2 separate regions of the Homo sapiens genome follow, and region 1 is linked to region 2. Evidence: promoter capture Hi-C in 16 types of primary human blood cells and fetal thymus (Javierre and others, 2016). All regions are on one chromosome and are shown on one strand. The core of a region is centred on a gene start or on the middle of the fragment in contact, and the rest is flanking DNA. Distances in the headings are between cores, read along the strand shown.

Region 1 (2,700 bases), core at 5-2,504, 700 kb before region 2:
ATACCCATTTTACAGATGAAATCACTTGAACAGTGGATCAAAGAACTGGGGTCAGAGCATGTACCTGACTCCAAAACTCTTGTTCAATTCCCCACAACTACTGCCTTCCAACTGGTCTCCCATTACTTCCTTCTTAAATCCCTCAGACTCACACTGGACATCAATGTCATCCTAACCTTCCTGTAAATTGTTTCCATTTGTCCCTGGTTGTGCTCAAGAACTTCTCATGGCTCCCCATTGCCCACCACAGTCTCCTCAAAAGTTATCTGATGACTGAAGACTGAGCATTTTCCCCCAGAGAGGCTGGGGTATTTAGCCCTTAGAGGCCTGTGTTCGTTTCCTGGGGCTGCCTTAACAAATGACCCCAAACTAGGTGACAAAACAGAGGTTATTTTCTCAAAGTTCTGGAGTTCAGAAGTCTGATATCAAGACACCAGCCTCTCTCCAAAGTCTGTAGAGAACAATCCTTCCCTGCCTCTTCCAGCTTCTGGTGGCTGCAGACATTCCTTGGCTTGTGGCAGTGTCACTCCCACCTCTGCCTCTCTGTCTTCACACAACCTGGTTCCCTGTGTCCTTTCCCTTCTCTCTTTTTGTAAAGACAAGTATCATTGAATTTAGGGCTCACTCTAATCCAGCATGATGTCATCTCGACATCCTTATCTTACAACATCTGCAAAGACCTTTTTTCCAAATAAGGTCGCGTTCTCGGCTTCCAGGTGAACATATCTTTTGGGGCCAACATCCAACCCACTGCAAGGCTTAACATGGGGGAGACATTTCTTTGAAGCTTATGTTTTATCTAAAAATATATAGGTTTTTCTGCATTCTACTCCATTAATGTGTCCACATCTGTTTTACTGTCTTCAATCACAAAGTATTGAAAGCATAAAAAACATGGAGTGGAAGGAGGTGCAGTAAACTTTTGCCTAAAATCACATCAGCATTACATCTTATGATCTCTCTTCCAAAGGCCTCTCCAACTTAGCCCTGCCATACAATCTCCTTTTTACCTCTGTCCAGTATAAGCTGTTTGCTTCAGTCACTCAGCTCTGCCCACAGTGCCACATTGAGTCACACTAGTTTCAGCCTTCTGTGGTGTGAAGGCAGCTAGGAATTCCCTGTCCCCGTCCTTCTCTTTCAGAGCTCCATTCAAGGCCTTCTCTAACCCCTCCTTAGACTCACGGAAAACACAAAGCAAGGTTGAGGGTGTTGTCCAAGTCATACGTCAGAGGCTCAAAGCCTACCTTGGAGCCTGTGCCTTGGGGTCATTTCACCTCTCTGAGCCTCAGATATTAATAGTGCTCTTGCAAAGCGTTGTGAGAATTAAAGGAGATAATATAAACATGTCTCAACTGTGTGTTCAGCACATGGTAAACACTCATGTCTCCTTTCTCATGACCTTCTCTTGTAACCCTCAATTCAATTAAGCATATCTGGTGTAGTTCTATTTGTAAGGCATTATAAGATCCACTTCAGGATTCATTCATTTGGTGCAGACACCAAAGAACACCTGGATGTGCAAAGAGCAGATATAAGATTGCATTATTCAGAGAGGTTATAACGCAAACTGGAGTGGAGTGAAAGGATGGGAAAATAGTTTAGGAGAAATGGAGAGGAAAGACCCAAAAGGAAGGATGAAACCAGCATACAAATAACTATAATATAAAACTAAATATGAACAGTACCAAAGAAAATATGTCTAGAGAATCAGGAGAAGCTTTAGGCTTTATGAAAGGTGGTGGCATTGGCAATGACCTTGAGAGATTACATGGTGGGAAGCTGCCTTTAATTTGGCTGCCCCCCTCTCTAGCCCCTTCCTGGTTTTAGAGAAGCCTGTCTGAACCCTGGAGGGAGGCAGAGTAGGCACCTTGGTCCCTCCATTCCCAGAAGCCCTGTGAGAGTGAACAGCCTGGGATTGGCCAATGGAACCCTCCCACTCAAGACTGTGAAACTGGAGAGGGTGAAAAGGACAAGAGAGGGTGAGATTCAATTTGCCATGGCTGAAATAGTCCCAGCACATCCCTCCCACAGGAATTAGCCAGCTCCATTCTCACCCCTTCTGCTCTCCAGTTCCCCTGTGAGCTACTTGATATTCTTCTAGTAAATTCTCCTATTCTGCTTAAGGTACCCAGAGGCACTTCCTCTTTTTGGAACCCAAACCCCTGAATAATGCAAATGGTAGGATTTTGAAAGGTGGAGATAGACAGGGAGAAAATTCCCAGCGGCAGGAGTTCAGAACTCTGAGGCAGACAGGGGGACGTGGGAGGACCCTGTAGGGACAGAGAATGGCCCACTTGCCTAAATGGAGCAGAGGCTGCACAGAGCGGATCGCGAGGCCAAGAAGGAAAGCAGTTAAGTGTGGACATCATCTGGGCTCAGCCCAGGAACACTCATTTGGTGCATGCACGGAAGGACAGCTGGAGACAGGAAGAGCAGACAAAAGTTCGCATTTCCAAGAGAGTTCATAACCCCAACTGGGGTGGAATGAGTAGATGGGAAAGTGTTTTAGGAGAAATGGAAGGGGAGGCTCAAAATGAATTGGCAGCTGCTTGGATGTGGGGGACCAAAGAGAAAGAGAATGGGGCACAAATATAACCTGAGGCTTTGGATGTGGGAAACTGCAAAGACAACGGTGCCGAGATCAGAAACAGAAAAGTGGGGAGGACTGGCTTGTGAGGGATGAACGGTTTTGTTTTTGTA
Region 2 (2,700 bases), core at 14-2,513:
AAAAAAAAAAAAAACAAATGTCCACATGAATAGATAGAATGGACTGGTTGATCTAGATTAAAATATAAAGGAAAGAACATACAAAAAGATGTTTTTTTTTTTAAATATAGTTTTTAAAGTATGGTATTTGACTTTCCTGCAATAATTGGTACTTGTTATCACTCTCCCTCCTTGAAACATTCACCTGTTTTCCATGACACCACACTGGCTGGTTTCTCTCCTGCTTCTTTGGTCCCTCATTCTCAATCTCTTGAGGCCTCTTATTTCTTATTTGTCCTTCAGGGCCCTGTCCCTCTGCCTACTCCTCAGTACACTCTCCCTAGGTAATTTAATTTGTTTACAAGGCCTCAGTTACCATTTACAAGGTAACAGGGCATTTCGAAATCAGTTCTCCTCCTGAGCTATACACTTGACTATCCGTAGACCTACTGGAAATCCCAGATGCCTAAAAACATAATCCCATACTAAACTCGTTTCTTCCCTCTCAAATCTTTTTCCTGCTCTGAGATCGCATGTCAGTAAACTGGCATCATCAGCCATCCAGCTGTTGACTCCCCACTTCTCCCTGGATTAAACGAAACGTACAAGTTCTGGCCTGCATCTTTCCATAGAGGGGGATTCGGGAAAATTAAGAAGCCAGAAATTGCGCATATTGAAGGCACTTTCAAAAAGTCACTGTCCTCTACACAACGTGACTTTCTCCATTGTCTTCCAGGCACCTGCAGGAATCCAATTCCCATCATTCTTCTCTGGCGCGGCCCTCCTCCTCCCTAGACAGCAGGGCAGGGTAGGACTGGACCCAACACAGACCTAGGCACCGACCCTTACTTAGCTCAGCAGCCAAATGAAGGAGGAGGTCGCTCCACTTCTACCTTCAGGTAAGTTCCCCTCGCTGCACCCCGCAAAAAAACAAGTAACAACCTCTAGAGCGGCTACTGCACGCCAATACCCACCTCCTCCCCCCCAACCTCAGACCTCCACTAAATACCTAAGATCCTAGAGTCCCTGCCTGAAGGCACGCGAGACGCTGGGGGAAGGTGTCCGCGCTGGCTCCACATCCTCGCGCGGCAGAGGTAAGCCGCTTCCAGTCTTCCCAGGCCTTACCTGGGATCTGACATTTGTTTGCAACTCAGGGGCCGCGGTTTTCCAGAGGCCTTGCTTCCGGGCGAGGCTACCCCTACCCCAGAGAAGAAGCCGGTACGAAACTGCTCCGCCGTAGGACACACAGGGCGCCGCCATGTTAGCTGTGGGAGCTCCAGGACCGGAGGGGTGAGGGGGCGGGGCCTAGAGACGGCGCAGGCGCTAATGGCGCGGGGTTCCAGAGGCTGTCCTGTGCAAGAGCTTCTCGGGCCTTTGGATCAGGGGGCGTGTCCCGCGATCCGCGACAGCTCGTCGCTGATTGGGTGCATGGTGTCCGCGGGGCGTATCCGACTCCACCCCTGCTCGGTGTCGACCTCAAGAAGGATCGCTGGTGGGTCGTTTTTCTCGGCCTCTTTCTCTTCACGTCCTGAACTCAGTCTCTTCGGGACTCACTTCCACGCTCTCCTAGTCTCTTTGGCACTCACATCCACGTGGCGCTTTAGCCAGCCCTTCCTTCCCAGCCCCCTTGCTGCACCTCGAGCCGGCTCTTCCTCCACCTGGGCAGGGCGGCCGGGGCCCCAGATGCGCTCCAAGCCTTGATTCCTGTCTGCCTTATCCTAGTAGGGGTTTTCCCCTCCTCTAACTTTCCACGTTCGTCTGGTTCCAAGTCAAGACTCTCCTGCAGCAACTGTCAAGCCCCTCTCGGTTCCCTGGCACTCTCCTGCGTTGTTTCTTAACTGTATAATGCACAGGATAAACCTTAAACCGGTAAGGTCAAACACTACCTTTCTCGTTTTTGCACGCCCCTCCCTAAGCGTTGGTACTAAGCCTTACTTGAAACCCAATCAGAACTGATTAATTGTTGAATAGAGATGAGTATGTCTTGCTTTCTGAAACTTGCGTGCTCCTGGCAGTTAACTCCCAGGTTGCTTTCTACGAAACACATACTAAATGATGTAGTAACGCACTTTAAAAGGGTTTACACACACTTAGATTTGAAGGGTCAGTAAAAGTAAAACACACAGAAAATCTGAGATCATACAAAGTTGTCAAGCAAATAAATGCCGTCTACTATCACCATCATTTCACGAAACAGAACTTTTTAGCATTAAAAAGGTAGAATGGCAGAATTTCACAATAAAGAAAAATCTTTTAAATGGAATACATTTACTTGTATAAAATGCTCATCCTGTTGTTCTTTTTGTTATTAGCTTTTAGACTAGCAAAAGATATCTTGAGAAATTGGCAGAGGTCGGAGGACTAAACTCTGATTTTTTTATCTTGCCCAAGATTCCTATCTACAGGATTTGGGGAGTCATGCCCTACAAATCATAAATTCTTATTAGATGGGTTTTACTTAACCCTATATATGGTGACTTACTTTCCAACCTGACTCTGGCATAACATTACAAGACAAGGAAGAAAATCAAAATATTTTACCCCAAAACATGTTTCTTTGCCATATCTTGAAATGGCCCTGCAAAGCTGTCCTTGGAGGGGTGGGATATGCATCTGTAAAGAATCTGTATTAACATAGCTAGATCTTTTTCTTCCAGACCCTCCCAATCCTAAAGAGATTAACTAAGATCTGAATAGGAAACATTTGTCATCCATTGTCTC

Evidence for each region. The method cuts DNA at HindIII sites, captures the fragments that hold promoters and counts their contacts. A CHiCAGO score of 5 or more calls a contact.
Region 1: a fragment that was not itself captured here is called in contact with the fragment with the promoter of MRPS9 in region 2 in 1 of 17 cell types (fetal thymus); the score reaches 5.1 in fetal thymus.

The regions. Positions count from the first base shown.
Region 1 is chr2:105,739,775-105,742,474 of GRCh38, reverse strand. No RefSeq gene overlaps it. Among named protein-coding and RNA genes, the nearest start is that of NCK2, 3.8 kb to the left of the region's middle. The HindIII fragment of the contact is 930 bases long and covers 790-1,719 here.
Region 2 is chr2:105,036,632-105,039,331 of GRCh38, reverse strand. MRPS9 (mitochondrial ribosomal protein S9) reads right to left here and starts at 1,263. Exons shown (of 11, transcript NM_182640.3): 1 at 1,105-1,263. The coding sequence starts at 1,239. It overlaps MRPS9-AS2 (MRPS9 antisense RNA 2), which reads left to right and starts at 836. Exons shown (of 3, transcript NR_110603.1): 1 at 836-878. RefSeq lists enhancers at 281-1,223, 977-1,306, 1,477-1,526, 1,577-1,626, 1,647-1,856. The HindIII fragment of the contact is 6,591 bases long and covers 1-2,700 here.